Regions from separate parts of the Homo sapiens genome. Here region 2 is linked to region 1. The links are contacts of gene promoters, found by promoter capture Hi-C in human tissues and cell types (Jung and others, 2019). All regions are on one chromosome and are shown on one strand. Each heading gives the region's core, a stretch centred on a gene start or on the middle of the fragment in contact. The rest is flanking DNA. Distances are from core to core; before and after follow the strand shown.

The links. Contacts are between HindIII fragments. The study calls those that stand out against the background at their distance.
Region 2: a contact is called between a fragment that was not itself captured here and the fragment with the promoter of PLA2G12B in region 1, in 2 of the 25 tissues and cell types used here (H1 embryonic stem cells and lymphoblastoid cells).

The regions. Positions count from the first base shown.
Region 1 is chr10:72,953,519-72,956,218 of GRCh38, forward strand. It overlaps PLA2G12B (phospholipase A2 group XIIB), which reads right to left and starts at 1,288. Exons shown (of 4, transcript NM_032562.5): 1 at 957-1,288. The coding sequence starts at 1,167. The HindIII fragment of the contact is 10,065 bases long and covers 1-2,700 here.
Region 2 is chr10:72,412,790-72,415,489 of GRCh38, forward strand. The region is part of intron 9 of MICU1 (mitochondrial calcium uptake 1); the gene reads right to left. Among named protein-coding and RNA genes, the nearest start is that of DNAJB12, 59 kb to the left of the region's middle. The HindIII fragment of the contact is 4,207 bases long and covers 1-2,700 here.

The DNA of each region.
Region 1 (2,700 bases), core at 38-2,537:
AGATAGTTGATAAATTAAACCATAAAACTAATGCTACCTGAGACCTGAGACTGTGCATGCTTTGGAAAACGTTTTCATGCGCATTGGCAATTACACGATGCCACCCAGCTTCAAGGCCTGGGGCTCCACATTTTGCTCCCCTTACATTAACTTCCAGGGCCCCTGGGACCAGGGGCTCTGTGCCGGCAGCCAGGTGTGCACCTTATATCTGTGTACCCCCAGCCATATTCAGGCAAGGTAGGGGAAGTGCTCCTGCCAGCTCACAAATCTGCATCTGGCGCCAAGTCCAGGGGACAGCCCCGGGATCCCTGGTGAGCCACGAACCCTTCCTCTCCACAGCATGCCTGTCGTTGCCGAGGCTGCAGGCAGGGACAGCTCCCTTGAGAAAGTCCAGCAAATTGATGCCAGTCAGGGACTGAGAGCTGGGAGGACGGTGTGAACTGCAGCAGGGGGAAGGGAGAATTTGTTTCCAAGCTGAGCACAGAGCAGCTGAGGAGGTGGTTTTGCCCCATGGCAGATTTTTCTCTGAATGTTCGGCTTCAGTTTTCATCCCTGGGAACTCCTCACAGAGGCCTCTCATACCCACCCTCCTTCTTCCCACCCCAGGTACCCTTTTTTCCTAAGAACTGCCTCACAACAAACTCATTAAAATGGCCCAGGGAAGGTTTCCCAGATACAATACAGGAAGCTCAGTGAAATGTGAGTTTGAGATAAACAACGAAGAATTTGTCAGGATAAGTATGTCCCAGATATTTCACTGGACATACTTATACTAATGACTTATTTGTTGTTTATTTGGATTTCACATTTCACTGGGTGTCCTACATTTTTATCTGCTAAATCTGGCAGCTCTAAGTGGATAACAGGAAAAAGTGCAAGACAGATCGTGACCTCTCTGGGGCTGTCCATGGGTCCACCAGCAACAGTTTTTACAGAAAGAGAAACCGCACACTCACCATATCGGCACCTGTACTGACAGACTCCATTCTTCCCTCCCAGCAGCTCCAGAAAAGAATCGAAGTAGCTATTGACGGATTCAAAGCTTCCCCGGAGGTGCCGAAGGCCCCAGTCTGAATAGGACTCCTCCGTGTCAGGGCTCGTGTCGCTCTGAGCCAGGCCACCCCCAAGGCTGAGCCACAAAACCAAGAAGCCACTGGCCAGCTTCATCCTGCAGCCAGGTAGGTACTGGCTTCTCTCCTCAAACCCCAGCCAGTGTCCCAGAATTCCAGGGACAAACCCCCTACCCAGATGTCAGGCAGGACTGGGAAAGGGATTATCTGGAACATTCAATCTGTCTGTTCCCCAGAGGTGGACTTTAAACATAGCTATGGAGGTTGGGATGAGATCAGGGCAATTAGAAAGAGGGCAAAGGTTAGGGAGTGGGAGGGCCAGGGAGAGAGAACATTTCAAAGTGGATTCTACCACCCTGGAGGGAGGGAGATGTTAGCCAGCTTCTGAGACGCAGGAACGGTGAAGGATTCGGAGTTCTACCCCGACCAGCTTGTTAAGCTGTTGATCAGTTACAAGTGTGGCTCTTCAGGGCCAGCCTCTTGATAGAAGAGCTTGACCGAAGGTCCTAGCCACACCCCTCAGCCAGCTACCTACATAGTCTCCAAGGAGAGTCAGGAGGATGTGTACAGGGCCCAGGAAAGCCCCAGCGGTAGGAATTAATAGTCACTTTACCAAGGGTCACGATAGTGTCAGAGTAGGTACCAAGTGTGTGTTAAGCAGAAGTTCAGATTTGAGACCCCAGCTTCTGCTGTGGAACCCACCTGGCTCTGACGCATAAATCCTCTAATTTGGCAGAGCTCCCAGATGTAGCCATCTGAGTGCAGGGACATTTTGGCTTCTATTTACAGCAGTATCTCTGTTTACACTCAGCATAAGTGGATCATAAGACAAGATCTACAGATGGTCCAAGGACAATTCTGGGGGCACTCGGCTCTCCTGGTGGTGTTTTTCCTTTGAGTTTCTTAGAAGTCAGAGGGTTTATCAAATAGTCTATTTGGGAGTGTAGGCTTTTAAGACTGTTGACTGAAGTCTAGTGTTTTGGCATCGTTTTCAGTTTAGACTGCTTTTAGTCGTGTGAAGAAATGCCATCTATAAAATCACTAGTCTAGGACCGGGCATGGTGGTGCATGCCTGTAATCCCAGCATTTTGGGAGGCCGAGGCGTTTGGATCACCTGAGGTCAGGAGTTTGAGGCCAGCCTGACCAACATAGCGAAACCCCGTCTCCACTAAAAATACAAAAATTAGCCAGGCAAGGTAGCAGCCGCCTGTAATCCCAGCTACTAGGAAGGCTAAGGCAGGAGAATCACTTGAACCCAGGAGGCGGAGGTTGCAGTGAGCCGAGAGCACGCCATTGCACTCCAGCATGGGCGACAAGAGCGAAACTCTGTCTCAAAAAAATAGTAATAATAAAATAATCACCAGTCTATAAAAATGATACCTTTATGGACCACATGAATCATTTAGCTCCTTTCTCAAATGTTTGTCTGGAAAGCCCCATGGAAAATAATGAATTAAATGAATTAATTTCTTCATTTTCAGTAAATGTGTTTGGCTGAAGACTCAGACTCCAGGAAGGGCAGTGGTTAAAAATTATTCATAGTCACAACAATGCCACCCAATATTTTAAAGCATCTATACTTTTTCAAACCACTTTCATGCATATGCACATACACAGAGGCACACACATA
Region 2 (2,700 bases), core at 134-2,633, 540 kb before region 1:
GCAGTGAGCCAAGATTGCGCCATTGCACTCCAGCCTGGGCGACAAGAGCAAAACTCTGTCTCCAGAAAAAAAAAAAAAAAAAGCAGTGGATAAAACTTTTAGAAGAAAACACAGGAGAGGCTGAGCACAGTGCACAGTGGCTCATGCCTGTAATCCCAGCACTTTGGGAGGCAAAGGCGGGCAGATCACTTGAGCCTGGAAGTTTGAGACCAGCCTGGCCAACATGGTGAAACCCTGTCTCTACTAAAAATACAGAAATTAGCCAGGCATGGTGGCATGTGCTTGTAATCCCAGCTACTCGGGAGGCTGAGGAATGAGAATTGCATGAACCCAGGAGGTGGAGGTTGTAGTGAGCCGAGATCGTGCCACTGCACTCCAGCCTGGGCAGCAGTGAAACTCTGTCTCAAAAAAAGACAAAAAACAAAAACAAAAACAAAACAAAACAAAACAAAACCACATAGGAGCAAATCTTCATGACCTTGACTAAGGCAAGAGTTCTTAGATGACACCCAAAGCACAATCCATAAAGGAAAAAAAACTGATTGGTTAGACTTCATCAAAATTTAAAAAATTTGTGCTTCAAAATAATGAGAAAATAGAAAAATCACAAGCTAGGAGAAAATGCTTGAAAATCATATATTTGGTAACAGACTTGAATCCAGGTCGGGCGCAGTGGCTCACACCTGTAATGCCAGCACTTTGGGACACCAAGGCGGGTGGATCACCTGAGGTTGGATGTTCGAGACCAGCCTGACCAATATGGTGAAAACCCATCTTTACTAAAAGTACAAAAATTAGCCAGGCTGTGGTGGTGGGCACCTGTAATCCCAGTGACTCAGGAGGCTGAGGCAGGATAACTGCTTGAACCTGGGAGGCAGAGGTTCAAGTGAGCTGAGATTGTGCCACTGCACTCCAGCCTGGGCGACAGAGGGAGACCCTGTCTCAAAAATAAAAAAAAAAGGACTTGTATCCAGAATTATATAAACAACTATTATAACTCAATATATGGGAAGACCAACAACCTGATTTAAAAAAAGATTTGAATAGACAGTTTACCAAACAAGACAAGTGAATGGCTAATAAGTACATGAAACAATGCTTAGCATCATTAGGAAAATACAAATTAAAATCACAATGATATACCACTACACACCTATTGGAATGACTGTAATAAAGAAGACAGACAATAACAGGTGTTGATGAGGGTGTGGAGAAACTGGAACTCTCGTATATTCACATGGAGATGTGAAATGGTTCCACCACTTTGGAAAACGGTTTAGCAGTTCCTCAAAAAATTAAATTTACCATACAACCCAGGTATTTCACTCCTAGGAATCTTCAACAAAAATGAAAACACAGGTCTGCAGGAGGACTTGTACGCAATGTTCACAGCAGCATTATTCCTAATAGCCCAAAACTGGAAACAATCCAAATGTGAATGGATAAATAAAATTTAGTATATCCAAGCAATAAAATACTATTTACTCTTCTGCAATAGAAAATAATAAACTATTAATATAAGCATCTACATAAAAATGTAATGTAGTAAATAAAATACTATTTACTCTTCTGCAATAGAAAATAATAAACTATTAATATAAGCATCTACATAAAAATATTGTGCTAAGTAAAAGAAGCCAGACACAAAAGACTACCTTATTATTGTATTTATATGAAATGTCCAGTAAATGCAAGTCTATAGAGACTGAAAGCTGTTTTATAGTTGCCTGGGGCTAGGGTAGAAATGAGGATTGACTGAAAGCTAGCAGGAGGGATCTTTTTGGGGTGATGGAAATGTTCTAAAACTGAATGGCAGTAATAATTGCATAACTGCAAATTTACTAAAATTCACTAAAATTAATAAAAATCACCGAATTGTACAGTTAAAATGGATAACTTATGGTATATAAATTATACCTCAAAAAAAGTTGTTAAAAAATATGAAGCAGTCAGAGTAGATGAGACAAGGAAAATGTAGCTTCCTTTGGAGTCAGCTGTAAAGCGAGATATCTAATGCTGACAGGCCATGATGAGTGCAAACACTGTAATGGATGATTCCCTCTTCCTGCCTTTTAATCAGTCACAGCAAATCCGTCTACCAGAAGCCAATCTAATTGCCCAAGTTCTGTCTATGGCCCACTGAAAAAAACAGTCTTCTTCCTTCCTTATATCCCATGCCTCTCACCATTCTTGTCATGTATCCTCTGCTCAATCTCCTGCTTAGTTTTTTTTTTTTTTTTTTTTGAGACAGAGTCTCACTCTGTTGCTTAGGCTGGAGTGCAATGGAGCAATCTTGGCTCACTGCAACCTTCGCCTTCCAAGTTCAAGCAATTCTCTTGCCTTAGCTTCCCAAGTGGCTGGGATTACAGACACCTGTCACCATGGCCAGCTAATTTTTTGTATTTTTGTAGAGATGTGCTTTCGCCATGTTGGCCAGGCTGGTCTTGAACTCCTGACCTCAGGTGATCCAACTACCTTGGCCTCCCAAAGTGCTGGGATTACAGGCGTGAGTCACTGCGCCCAGCCTCTCCTGCTTAGTTTTAAAACAATTTTAATTAATATTTTTATACCAGGTACAAGGCAATTCTTTCTGAACCCTGTGCTACATGTGGCCCATGTTACCTATTTCTTGGGTACCTTTCAGAGGTATTACTATGCCTGTCTTGCTCTAATAAAGCATCTTCCTATTGCAAACCCCAG